Regions from separate parts of the Homo sapiens genome. Here region 1 is linked to region 2. The links are contacts of gene promoters, found by promoter capture Hi-C in blood cells and fetal thymus (Javierre and others, 2016). All regions are on one chromosome and are shown on one strand. Each heading gives the region's core, a stretch centred on a gene start or on the middle of the fragment in contact. The rest is flanking DNA. Distances are from core to core; before and after follow the strand shown.

Evidence for each region. The method cuts DNA at HindIII sites, captures the fragments that hold promoters and counts their contacts. A CHiCAGO score of 5 or more calls a contact.
Region 1: a contact is called between the fragment with the promoter of SH3GL1 here and the fragment with the promoter of SAFB2 in region 2, in 2 of 17 cell types (neutrophils and fetal thymus). The highest score is 6.1, in neutrophils.

What each region holds. Positions count from the first base shown.
Region 1 is chr19:4,397,406-4,403,669 of GRCh38, reverse strand. It overlaps SH3GL1 (SH3 domain containing GRB2 like 1, endophilin A2), which reads left to right and starts at 3,123. Exons shown (of 10, transcript NM_003025.4): 1 at 3,123-3,346. The coding sequence starts at 3,302. CHAF1A (chromatin assembly factor 1 subunit A) reads right to left here and starts at 1,030. Exons shown (of 15, transcript NM_005483.3): 1 at 856-1,030. The coding sequence starts at 907. RefSeq lists enhancers at 1-572, 573-1,270, 2,933-3,762 and silencers at 783-1,062, 3,025-3,534, 3,595-3,644. The HindIII fragment of the contact is 26,532 bases long and covers 1-6,264 here.
Region 2 is chr19:5,620,460-5,627,356 of GRCh38, reverse strand. It overlaps SAFB2 (scaffold attachment factor B2), which reads left to right and starts at 4,581. Exons shown (of 21, transcript NM_014649.3): 1 at 4,581-4,827; 2 at 5,961-6,048. The coding sequence starts at 4,642. SAFB (scaffold attachment factor B) reads right to left here and starts at 4,274. Exons shown (of 21, transcript NM_001201338.2): 1 at 3,963-4,274; 2 at 868-952. The coding sequence starts at 4,151. RefSeq lists enhancers at 3,112-3,843, 3,844-4,576, 4,497-4,836, 5,310-6,042 and silencers at 3,817-3,866, 4,837-4,956, 5,961-6,181. The HindIII fragment of the contact is 4,337 bases long and covers 2,578-6,897 here.

The DNA.
Region 1 (6,264 bases), core at 1,874-4,373, 1.2 Mb after region 2:
GGGGCTGCTACTGGCCTGCAAAAGGCGGAGGCCAGGGATGATGCTTAACACCCTGCAGTGCCGTGCCCAGGACGGCAACAAATATCAACACTGCTGAGGCTGAGAAACTGGACTGGCGTCCATTCTAGCCCTTCATTCGTTCACGTTATTTACTGAGCACCTACTATGTGCCAAAGCGTAATGCCAAGTGCTGCCAAAGCGTTATGTAATGCAGAGTCCAGCAAGGGAGAGGGACAGTCTGGTCTTCCTTGGTTCACCCTCCCACGTTTCAGGAGGCCTGTGGTGGGCTCCAAAGACCCCATTCCAAGGCACACGGAGGAGGAAGTCACGGTGCATATCAGGAAGGAGCAAGAACTCGGGAGTCCCACCCTCCTGGCCATCTCTACCATCTGGGCCTCTTCTTACCCGGGCTTACCCCGACCCTCAGCGGCATCGGTACTGGTCCCCGAGCCCGTGCGACCTTGGGCCTCAGTTTCCCCACCCGCTGCAAGGTCCAACATGGTCAAGGGACACAAACGCATCCAGTAACCTGCAGGGCAAGCCCTTTCGCTTCCCTGGGCCTCAGTTTCCCCTCTCGGCCCCTCCGACCCACCGCCCCAGAGAGTCCTGGAGGGACGAACTGACGCAAAAGCGCCGGAAACAAACAATATGGTCGCGGCTACAACAATAACGTCAACAAGGGTGCCCTTGGGGACGCCAGGCCCTCGCTGGGGATGAGAAGGCCCCAGGGGGTGAACGCCCGGCCCGCAGGACCAGGCTTGGCGCCCGGAGGCCCGTCCGCCTCCCATCGCCGCCTCGGCCCGTCCAGGCCGCGCGCCGCGCCCCCCCTTCCCCTCGGCGCGGGCCCGAACCGACCTGTGGCGGCTCCCCTGGCGCCGGGCGCCCCGCACTCCAGCTCCTCCAGCATCGCCCCGGCGGCAGCTCGACCTCCTCTCAGGCGGCGGAGGCGCGGGCTCCCCTCAGGCGGCCGCTGCTCTTCGCCCTCCCGCCCGCGCCGCTGCTGCCGCCGCGGCCGCCGCGCTCGTATTTGGCGGGAACCGCGGCGACCCCCGCAGTCCGCGCGCCAATTGGGCGAGCCCGGGTCACGTGACGGCCCGCCTCGGGAATTGAGGGGCGCCGGGGGCATCCTCGCGAGATCCGTGACTTCCATTCCTCCCAGGGCTCGCCCATTGACATATCCGCGAGGGACTGGGCTTCCCCTCGGAGGCCTGTCATTGGCTGGGAGGAGCTGCCCTGCGATTGGAGGAAGGAGGTGTCAAGCTCATTGCTCTGCGCTGCGACTGGCTGATCGCGTGGGATAGTCCCTAAGAGGAGGGAGGCCCAGGCTCTTACGTCACCAGAACATTTTACGCAAGGCGCAGATGACAACTTGAAAGTGGGATTTAGATGAGGAACCTGGAGTTTTGAGTTTATCCTAATGGGACATCGGCTAAATATAGCAACAGCAATTAAAATTATAAATTGCTTTCTACAAGAACAATAAAACGAAGTCTGGGGAGCGCTTCGGAAGTATTTGACATTCAGTAAATAACATGTAGAATGAGTGAACGAAATGGACGAAATGGATCGTTTCTGGTTTAATCCTCAGGAAATTGGCACATGCTGTTTTCTCTGCCTAGAACAATCTTTTCGCAGCTCTTTTCCTGGCTAATTTATACTTTTCAGATCTTAGATCGTCACCCCAGGAAGCCTTTTCTTCCCCAACCCTGACAATATCAAGTGCCTACAACACTGTTCTTTTCCTTAAAGCAATTACAGCTGTGTCTATTTATTAGTTTGTTATTTGACTAATGAATTAATTTCTGCCTTTTGTCATTAGTTCTGGCGAGGGTAGGACTCATTCCTCACTGGAACCCCAGGACCTGTTAGTAACTGATCATATTTACCAGGTCAATAAATGTTTGAGTGAATGTATAAATATTTGATTGAACTGTGTAGATCAAGCAGATTAAAAGCCTCACACAAAACAGAGAACTTCAGTGTCAGCCTGTGAGTGTAGAAACAGGTTTTCTTTCTTTCTTTCTTCCTTCCTTCCTTCCTTCCTTCCTTCCTTCCTTCCTTTCTTTCTTTCTTTTTTCTTGAGACGGAGTCCCTAGTAGCTGGGACCACAGGCGCCCGCCACCACGTCCGGCTAATTTTTTCTATTTTTTAGTAGAGACAGGGTTTCACCGTGTTAGCCAGGATGGTCTCAATCTCCTGACCTCGTGATCCGCCCACCTAGGCCTCCCAAAGTGCTGGGATTACAGGCGTGAGCCACCGCCCCTGGCCCTGAATTGCATTCTAGAAGCATCTTTCTGGCTGCCATGACAAGGAAGAATTGGAGGGGAGGACTGGTGGAAAGTATGGTCAAGGCATGAAGACAGACCTAGATGTCTAGATGTGTCACGTGGGCAACTGAATGGATGAACACAGGACAGAGAGAGAGAGGAAGAGAGGTGGCCGGGCACGGTGGCTCATACCTGTGAGACCAGTACTTTGGGAGGCTGGATTTGGTGGGGGGGTTGGGGGTTGGATCACCTGAGGTCAGGAGTTCGAGACCAGCCTGGCCAACATGGCGAAACACTGTCTCTACTAAAAATACAAAAATTAGCCTAGCATGGTGGTGCGCGCCTGTAATCTCAGCTACTTGGGAGGCTGAGGCAGGAGAATCGCTTGAACCCGGGAGGCGGAGGTTGCAGTGAGCCGAGATCACGCCACTGCACTCCAGCCTGGGAGACAAAGCAAGACTCCGTCTCAAAAAAAAAATAAATAAATAAATAAAAATGGGAGGGGGCTGAACACTTAGACGAACTGGATTTAGCTAAGATGAGTAAACAGGAATCTGAAGAATCGTAAGCAGGGGCCCCTTCTACTTCCCAACCTCCCTGGCCAGGTTTAAACTAAGCGCGTTTTCCAAGACGTTAGGGTCACCTCCACGACTCCAGGGGGCGCTGCAACTGCTACGGCCCCTCTAGGCTCGCCCCGCTCAACTCACTGACAGAGGCGGCCTCTCCCGCGGTAGACAATGTGCACGTGCGCTCTTCAGCCGGCAGAGGGCGCGCGTGCGCAGACGGGGCCGGGGGCGCGCGCGGGGGCCGGGGGCGCGCGCGGGGGCCGGCACCGGAAGCGTGCGGTTGCCATGTAATATCCTGGCCGCGCGGGCGCGCGAGCGGCTGAGGCGGCGCCGGGGCGGGCGCGGAGCTGGCAAGCGGGTGGCGGAGGCGGCGCCGACGGGGACTGCTGAGGCGCGCAGAGGGTCGGCGGCGCCCGGGAGCCTGTCGCTGGCGCGGTCCGGGCGGGAGGCTCGGCGGCGGGCGGCAGCATGTCGGTGGCGGGGCTGAAGAAGCAGTTCTACAAGGCGAGCCAGGTGAGCGCAGGCCCAGGCGGGAGCCGAGTACCGGGCCCCGGGCTGCCCGGATGAGGGAGCCAGGCCCGACCTGGCCCGGGAGGGGGCCGGGGGGACCGAGGTGGGGACGTTGGCGCGTGTCCCCTGCCAGGTGGGAAGACCAAGGGACGGACGGGGGCGACGAGGTGGCCCAGGCCCTGCCCGCCATGCGGGCTCCAGAAGCGGGGACAGAGCCCCTGGGAGGAGGGGAGAGGCACCCTGGGCTGCCCAGGGACGCGGACCTCTCCCCTCCTTCTCTCCGCTGCAAAGGCGGGGTGCGGGGAGAGAAGGGGAAGAGAGGAGTCCCGAGGCTGTCGACACAGGACTCTTGCCAGATAACCCAGAGCCAGGGAAAAGTTGCGTCTAGAGCAGTTACGTTCAAAATCCTCTGGATGGGCAAGGTACAAAGTTGAAAAGGTAGAGGAAGAAGTCAGTTTCCCCTCTCTGCTCCTCGGGCAGCCAGCCCTTCTCCCCAGAGACAAGCGACTGTCATCGACTCCGTATGTCCCTTTCCTAAGATACGTGTGTGCCTTTCCTTTAAAAACACGTACCCTGTGATAGCATATGCCACAGAATCCTGTGTGCTGTGTTTTTCATTGCTTGGAGATCACACTGGAGCGGGATTTCTCCCCCTCCGTCGGCACTGTTGACATCTGGGGCTGGATTGTTCTCCGTGGTGGGGCCGTCCTGGGCACTGCGGGGTGCTGAGCAGCGCCCCTGGCCTCCACCCACTCCGGGCCAGGAGCACCCCCAAGTCGTGACAACCAAAAATATCTTGAGACATCACCGTGTGTCCCCTTAGAATCAGTCCTCCTTCCCTCCCTTCGTTCCTTCCTTCCTTCTTTCCTTCCTTCCTCCCTCCCTCCTTGCCTCTCTCCCTCCCTCCCTTCTCTTCTTTCCTTCCTCCCTTCCTTTCCTGTCCCCCAGGACTACTGCTCTAGACCATACTCCACACTTCTTGGATTTTTTTTTTTTTTTTTTTTTTTGAGAGGGAGTCATGCTCTGTCGCCCCAGCTGGAGGGCAGTGGTGCAATCTCGGCTCACTGCAAGCTCCGCCTCCTGTGTTCAAGCAATTCTCCTGCCTCAGCCTCCCCAGTAGCTGGGACTACAGGCATGCGCCACCACGCCCGGCTACTTTTTGTAATTTTAGCAGAGACAGGGTTTCTCCATGTGCCCCAGGGTGGTCTCGAACTCCTGGCCTCAAGTAATCCGCCTGCTTCGGCTTCCCAACATGCTGGGATTATCGACGTAAGCCACCTGCCTGGCCTACTTGGCTCTTTTTAATGGGTACATTGTATTTCATTCCATGACATATACCATAATTTATTTAACCAGTTGTCAGTTGATAGATATCTCTATTGTTTACCGGAATTTTCTGTTACCATTACTACAATAAATAGCCAGTGAATATCTTTGCTCACCAGTGGGATTAGTTTTATAGGATGAATTCCCAGAAGTAGAATGCTGCATCCCAGCCTAAGTGCATTTGATATGGACAGATAAAGGGTTTTTTTTGGAAACTCCAGGGCCCACTGCTCATGAATCTGGTGAAAGCTGTGGATCCACTCTCCAGAAAACTGGGCACATTTAAAATTTTCACTTTGCAATTTCGAATGCAAGAAGCCTCAAATTTGGCCGGGCGCGGTGGCTCATGCCTGGAATCCCAGCAGTTTGGGAGGCCGAGGCGGGCGGATCACTTGAAGCCAGGAGTTTGAGAGCAGCCTGGGCAACATGGCAAAACCCCATCTCTACTAACAATACAAAAATTTTGTATTTTTGCCTGTAACCCCAGCTACTAAGGAGGGTGAGACAGGAGAATCTCTTGAATCCGGCAGGCAGAGGTTGCAGTGAGCCGAGATTGCACCACTGCACTCCAGCCTGGGTGACAGAGCGAGACTCCGTCTTGAAAAAAAAAAAAAGACAAGAAGCCTCAGATTGTTGAATCCTATTGGTCCGTGTACTGCAGGGTGAGGTTGTGTGGAATTTGTGTAGATAGAGTCCACCGAGGAATGAGCAATGATCTTAGCAAATGCTTGGGCCAAGGTGGCAAACAGGGTTCTCTGCCCACAGTTCGGAGATGCCCAGTGGGAGCAAAGAGAAACGAGTCCCCAGTAACACCCAGCAGGTACCTTTGCCCCTGGAAAGAAAAAAGTAAGGACCCTGCCAGGTGCTGTGGCTCATGCCTGTAATCCCAGCACTTTGAAGGCTGAGGCAGGGGTTCCCTTGAGTTCAGGAGTTCAAGACCAGCCTGGGCGATATAGGGAGATCCCATCTCTACAAAATATGAAAAAGTTAGCCAGGTGTGGTGATGTGCACCTGCAGTCCCAGCTACTTGGGAGGCTGAGGCAGGAGGACCACTTGAGCCCAGCAGTTCAAGGCTGCAGTGAACTATGATCGTGCCACTGCACTTCAGCCTGGGCAGCAAAGTGAGACCCTGTCTCAAAAAATAAATAAAAAAAGTAACAACCCTAGTGGTTGTTTAGGGATATAGATACTTAGGGTCTATCTCTACACCCCAGATGATGGTTAAACCCTGGAGAAAGATTTAATCCAGACGAATTTTAGAGTTGTCACTGAGAACAGTCCCACCCCCTTGCCCCAGCACTTTGAAATCAGATGGCCTGGCCCTGGGTTAGACCTTGCCCAGCAGGCGTCAGACCTTCACCTGCTTGGTTAGAGCACCATAGAGTACTGCTCCCTAGCAGGAAAGATGTCCTCAGAGGTCTTGGAGGAATTCCTGGGCCACTTTGTTCCCTGCTATAGACAGGTCTCTGGAAGCCACCACCCCCACTCCCAGCGATCAGGGCCTGTGCCCATATTGTCCTGAGCTGACACCCTCTTTAGAGGAATGAACCAGGCCTCTTGTGCCGGCCACCAGGACTTTGTCTCTCTCAAGGGAA
Region 2 (6,897 bases), core at 3,332-5,831:
AGCTAGGAAAACAGGCGTGCCTCGACGCCTAGGTACTTTTTTTTTTTGGCAGTGGATAGAGGCAGCCCAGGCTGGTCTCAAACTCCTAGACTGAAACCATTCTCCTGCCTTGGGTTCCCAAAGTGTTGGGATTACAGGTGAGAGACACTGTGCCCCGCCCCCACCCCCCTTTTTTTTAAGAGAGACTGGGTCTTGCTCTGTCACCCAGGCTGGAGTGCAGTGGTGCAATCATTAGGTCATTGCAGGCTTGAGCTCCTGGGCTCAAGTGATCCCCCTCCTAAAACTCCCAAGTAGCTGGGATCACAGGTGCATGCCATCATGCCTGGCTAATTTCTTTTTGGTGGGGATGGGGGTCTCCCTATGTTGCCCAAGCTGATCTCAACCTCCTGGGGTCAAGTAATCCTTCCGGTTCAGCCTCCCAAGCAGCTGGGACCACAGATGCATGCCACCACACCGGGCCTTTAAAAGTTTTTTTGTAGAGCTGGGTTTTGCTATGTTGCCCAGGCTGGTCTTGAACTCCCAGGCTCATGTGATCCTCCTACCACAGCCCCGAGTCGCCTGGAATTACAGGCACACGCCACTGTGACTGACTCCCAAAAGACTCCTTATTTAAGGACCGCTGACAATCTACAGAGGAAAATGAATAAAGGACAAATACTCCTTCCATCCTCCATTGGAATTCCCAGATACCAAGAAAACAAAACACAGTAGAGAGATCTTGAAAGAAAATGCAAAGCTTCGCTGAAGGCTCCCAGTTCAGAGTGGTTCACAAGTCCAACACACAGACAAGTAAACGAGGCACATTAGCAATGTATTCGTTTTGAAGAAAGCACTTAACATGAAACTTGCTTATGAAATCCTCCATACCTTTGCTAGACCTCTTTGATGTTTTCTTGTTTCCCTCGGAGGTAATTTCAATTTCGTCAGGATTACCACCTTCATCTTCAATTGCCTAAAAAGAAGGGAAAAGTAAAGTTGATCCAAAAAGTCAGCTCACACACTGCTTTCAGAGAGCTCTCAGGTGACAAGGAAACTGTATTTTTAAGATCAAAAAGCTGCTGCCGCCCTCACCACCCAGGACCTGTGGCCCATCCACTCATCTGTTATCTCGCTCTACACTGGAGACCGACTGACGCCACCAGTTCTTAGCTGGGTGGTCCCAGGCAGGTTTACTTAGGTGCTCAGTTTTTGCTTCTTCCTCTGGAACATGCGGCTAATAATAATACAGTACTTACCCTGGAAGGCTGTTGTGAGGACTCTACTAGCCATGAAAAGGAAGCACTCAACAAACAGTAGGCTTATCTGGTTCATCTCCTTCCTAAGCCCAGAAGAACTCAAAAAGGGAAAGGCACACTCTCCATTTCCCCTGACTTTACTCACAAAATACTCTTTAACCCTCCAGGGACTCCCTCCACGCCGTGCCTGTACTCAGTACTGTGTGGACAGAATACTAATGCTCGCTGACTGGGATCCTACTATGTGTTACGCACGAGACCCGTCACGACATGCATGACCTCATCCGATCCCCATCATGTACATTCACAACCGACTCCAGTACCTCATTCTCAACCACTAGGTGATTGTGCCTCATCGGATATTGAATTATAAGAATTTCTTGGCACGCCCAGCCTCCCACCCCAGGACTCTGTCACTCACTTCAACTATGCCCATCCTCAGCACAGTGCCTGGCATCAACTAAGCCATCAGTACCGAACACGTCAATCACGATGACGTCCCTAGAAACTTAGCTTCAGGTCAAGTTTTACTGATAACTTTTCCAGTCTTTACTCTCCAGTCCCATGAGCACAAGTTTTGTTTACATCATTTCATGTACTATGTTTTATCTGCAGAGGTTTGGAAGCCTCCAAGTTTCCCAGGTGGGTAAGTCTGAATTGAGATAGGGCCTGGGGGTTCCACATCTCATCTTTACCAGCAGCAACAAAAATCTCTCCTCTCAGAAGCCAGAAAAGGGACTGAAGTTCTTTCCTGGGATCAAGGAAAAGTACAATCACCAAGTCCCTCACCCTTTTCCCGGGGACAGGCAATTCTGAAACACCACCAGGAGAAGAGAAGCAATGCCCTAGGCAGGTGTCCTGTTTCCCCTTTTTGTTCTTTTGCCCTTCCTGGAAAAATAAACCAAGAAAGGGACACCAACAGGATGACAGAAACGGGAAGAGAATGAGATCAGGAACTCCAGACTGGCTTGGGTGAGTGGCAGACAGGGATATGGGCTGGCGGTATTCGTGTTTTGGGACCACATCTTGAAGAAAATGAAAAGGAGAAGGAAGAAGGAACAAATCTGTGCTCTCAGAGATGACAGCGAGTGATGGGAAGTCTCAGTCACCAGCTTGACAGGAAGATCACAGCAGCTTTTCAGGCCTATGGACCGTCCAGGGAGAAAAAAAGGATAAAGCCTCTTAATTTGGCTTAGCTGATGGGAGGCCCTGGTGGCGGGGCACCACACCTGACCAGCCGCCAATCTCCACTCTCTGCATTTTCTCTGGGTAAATATGTAGATCAGTGGGCTTCCTGCCTTATCTGAGTAAAGAGAATCCATAGTGAAAAGAAACACAAGCTTGAGCTTTTAAAAGGCCCATGTGACTCTGGCCGAGACAACTATCCACCCTTGAGCCCAGGGTTTCTCATCAGGAAAAAAAAAAAAAAAAAAATCCCTACTTCTTCTCATCACCAATTAATAATAAAGCCCTGTGATCTCCGTAGTTCCGGAGTCAGGATGGTGGGATGTGTCAACAGCCCCACTGCCTGCAGGGGCTGGGGGGTGGGCGGCCAGGCGGAGCAACTACAGGGGAGAGGTCCCAGAGTAGCCAGGTGGAAAAAAGGCAGAGAAAAAAAGCTACAGGAATAAGGAAACCGCAGGTGGCTAACCTTTACTTGCCTCTCTGCTTTTCCTAGGGATCCCTTTGAATCCCCCAAGGGAGGCGTTAGAGCCCCCGATCTGCAAATGAGGACTCGTGGTGGCACAGAGAGGAAAAGCGAATCGTGATGGCAACCACACACCGAGTGTTTACATGCGCCAGGCAGCACGCCAAGCCTGCTCCACGCAAACTTATTTAATCCCCAAATCAAAGTCCTATTGCTTTTTTGCTTCTTACAGGAGAAAAAAAAAAAAAAAGAATAGAAAAGAGGACTCAGAAGGGGTTCAAGGTCTCCTATGCCCAAGATCAGGCCACCGAGAGCTGGCAGGGTCCCCAAGTCCAGAGAGACTGACGGAGCTGGGGGAGCCCAGGCTCTGCCCGCCTCCCGGGCAGTTCTGAGGCTGGTTTTAAAGTCCACCCGGGGTCTCCCCTCATTTCACATTTCTGATCACTACCGTCAACACCACTTTTCCTTCCTGCCACGTTACTTCACCGAGCGAGTACCGGCAAACCGTGAAAACTGGATTGTGGTGGGTTTTTTTCTATTTTTCCCTTTGAGTATGTCCTACGGGTGTTTCCTTTGTAAATCAGCCCCGATTCAGGCTGGTCGGTCCCCTGTGGGTCACAAAGCATCTTCCCTGGGGAAACCAAGCAGCCGAATCAGGAATCCCAGGGCCTGGGTTCAAATCCCGACGCTGCCCGTCCTCGGCCGTGTGACCTTGGCCGAGTCCCTTCCCCTCGCCTGGGAAGTGAGGGTTTCAGGGTCTCCCCTCCAGGTACGGAGGAGGGGACGAGACGAGGGGAGAACCCTCCTCTCAGTGGACGATGTCACCCGTCACCGTTTCTCCTGCACGCGTGCCGTTTTTGTGGTTCTCCTGGCCCCATTGCGGCGTTAGGATTTGAACCCAGGCCCAGCCGGCCAAGGAACTCTCTCCGGGGCCTCGGAGGAGCCGGGGGACGCGAGAGCGCCAGGTCCGGCGAGGCCGCGAACGCGGCCGGGGGCGGACGCCAGGGCCCGCGAGCCACCGTCGCGGCCAAGAGGACCCCAGACCCACCCTGTGCCCGCCCTCGGGGCCCCAAATCCACCTTCTTCAGCCGCTCCATCAAAACGCTCTTGTTGCCGCTCGAGTCCACATTCCGTTTCCTCAGCTCCGCCCGCAGATCGATCACTCGCAGGTCGCTGAGGCGCCGCGTCCCGGTCTCTGACGAGGCGGAGCTCAGAGCCGCCGCGCCCGCCGCTCCAGAATCACCTAGGCCTGACAGAGTCTCCGCCATTCCAGGGACCCTGGCTCCGCCGCCCACTTTCCACAGAACCGGGCCGGTTTTATCAGGCTCCTAGCACAAAATGGCGCCGCCTGCGAGGGAACCGCTCCAGTCGCCCCAGCGCGCCTCGCTTCTGCGCAGGCGCACCAAGCGTAGGTTCTAGTATCCCGGTTGCAACTGCACATGCGCAGTGAGAACAACGCGGGGATGTGCGCAGACGCGTTGCGTCTCGTCAGCCTCCCGCCGGGAACTGCCGGGACGCATGCGAGCTGCAGATTCAGCGCTTGCGCGTTGTGCCGGGGAACCCGCGGTTGGTGGACGCGCGAGCGTCCTTGCTGCTAAGTACGCTAGTGGGGGCGGTGCGCGTGCGCGTGCGCGGCCGCAAAGCGGGGCGGGAGGAAACGAGTGCGTTTTCCTCTTAGGCGGCGCCATTTTGTGTTCAGAGCCGCTATAGCTGCCGGCGGTGTGCGACTGAGTCGGTGGCGAAGACGGGAACGCGACGATGGCGGAGACTCTGCCCGGGTCGGGCGACTCGGGCCCTGGCACGGCTTCTCTCGGCCCGGGCGTTGCGGAGACTGGGACGAGGCGGCTCAGCGAGCTGCGGGTGATCGATCTGCGGGCGGAGCTGAAGAAGCGGAACCTGGACACGGGCGGCAACAAGAGCGTCCTGATGGAGCGGCTCAAGAAGGTGAGGCGGCGCGGGGCTCGGGGGTGGCGCAGGAGGCCCGGGCACGCCCCCGCCTGCACCTGTCACCGCGGCTCCCGGACCCGGGGCGCCCTGGGTTCGCCCCGCGTCTTGGCCGACCCCGGTTCGAGGTGTCGGGCACCCAGGGGGCCGGCTGTGTGACCTTGGCCCGTCACCGCTCCTCTCTGTGCCTCCCTTCCTATCCTCTTTCCACCTTTTCTCCTCAAGCGCGCTCAGCGTGCGGTCTTCTCCGCTACCAGGGTGGCCCCGGGACCCCTCCTGGGGCTCCCGATCGAGCCTTGGCTCTGTGACCTTGGGCAGGTGCCTTTCTCTCTGTGCCTCAGTTTCCTCCTCCGGAGAATGGGTGTCTGGCGGACTCCAGAGCATTTACAGGAAAGGGGGCGGTGCTTGTTCTTGCCCCAGGGCTTTGGCCTTTACGAAGCTGTCCACCCGGGTCCCCCAGATCTTCTCGTGGCCGGCCCCTTGTTGTCATTTTGGGTCTGCCTGAGACATCACCTTCCTGAGCGCCCTTCCTAATGCGCTGCCCCACCTCCTTGCCAGCTCATCCTGCGTTTGTGTCGCACCTCGCTGAAAGCAGGGGCTAAATGCAAAATATTAAGGGGTTGGGAATTGTCTGTTTCCGCAACTGGAACAAACAACTTGAGCATAGGGAGGGAGCTTGTGGGTACCCAGTCCTGGACCCGGCAGGTGGCAGGCACTGAGGGACCTGTTGAATCTCCCCAGGCTGGCTGCTGTTCCTCCTCACCAGCGGTGGCCAGCCCTTCACCGAGGCCGGGCCAAGTGCAGCCTCTCTGTTCTAATTTGTCCCATCATATAACTTTAAAGTCGAAGGTTTGGCATTGTCGAGTTGAGTTGCCATTTTGGAACTGGTCCTTGACCCCAATTCTGGAGCTCCTGCTCACAGCCTCCCTCTCCTTTGTCATTTGGACCCAGAGAGACCCAAGTTGTGCGGGGTTCCTCCTCCGCCTTTTGGGCTTGCGGCCCAGATAGCTGACCCGGAGTTGCTCTTTGCAAGGACGGGTTTGCCTTTGTTTCATGGGAGGTTGTTACTTGTAAGGAACAGTGTGTGCCCTGCAGCTCTTAATGATGTTGTAAAACTCATCTCTCCCTAATAGGCGGTTAAAGAAGAGGGGCAAGATCCTGATGAAATTGGCATCGAGTTAGAAGCCACCAGCAAGAAGTCAGCCAAGAGATGTGTTAAAGGTATTGTACATATGCTGCTTGGGGCTTGAGTGTTCAGAGAATTTAGAGAAATGGTGTGTAGTGTGCTCTTCCCGCCTTCTAGGCTGGGAGAATTTCTCTGGTACTCGGTGTCCCTCCACTAAGAGTTAGCTTTGCTCGTCACCACCTAACAGGTAGCTCTGTCAAGGGCACAGGGAGGAGGAAAGAGATGTACAGGTGCCAAGTGCAATTAAAATATACGAAAAACGTTTCAGCTTCTGCCATTGGGATTAAAAGTCAACTAGAGAAAGACAAGCTCTTAAAGCTACTTCTACGGGTCTGAGGAACCAAATGTACCTACTTGGCTTCCTTCCTGGTTCAAAAAATAGGTCTTAACCCAAAGAAAAGGACACCAACCTGAGACCGAATAGAACTCAGCTTTGCTAGGGTCCAAAGTAGATTGTTGGGGTATTTGCACTCAGCCTATTTTTTACTATTACGGTTTTTGAATGTGAAGGTTTAATTCACAGACCGTTAAATTCATCAGGTTAAGGTGTACAATTCAGTGCTTCCTAGTGTATACACAAGGCTCTGCCACCACCACCACCGTCTCCTTCTGGATTTTCATCACCCAAAAAGGAAACCCGGTCCTCATTAGAAGTTAGTCGCCTTACTTTTCTCCCTCCAGCCCCTGGCAACTACTAATCCATGTTCTGTCCGCATAGATTTGCCTATTGTGGACATTTCATGTAGATGGAATTGTACAACATATGGCCATTTGCATCAGCTTTCACGTAGCATAATGCTTAAAGTTCATCTGTGTTGTAACATGTATTGATACTTCATTCCTGTTTATGGCTGATACCAGTTATTTTTGAAAGCATTGAATTC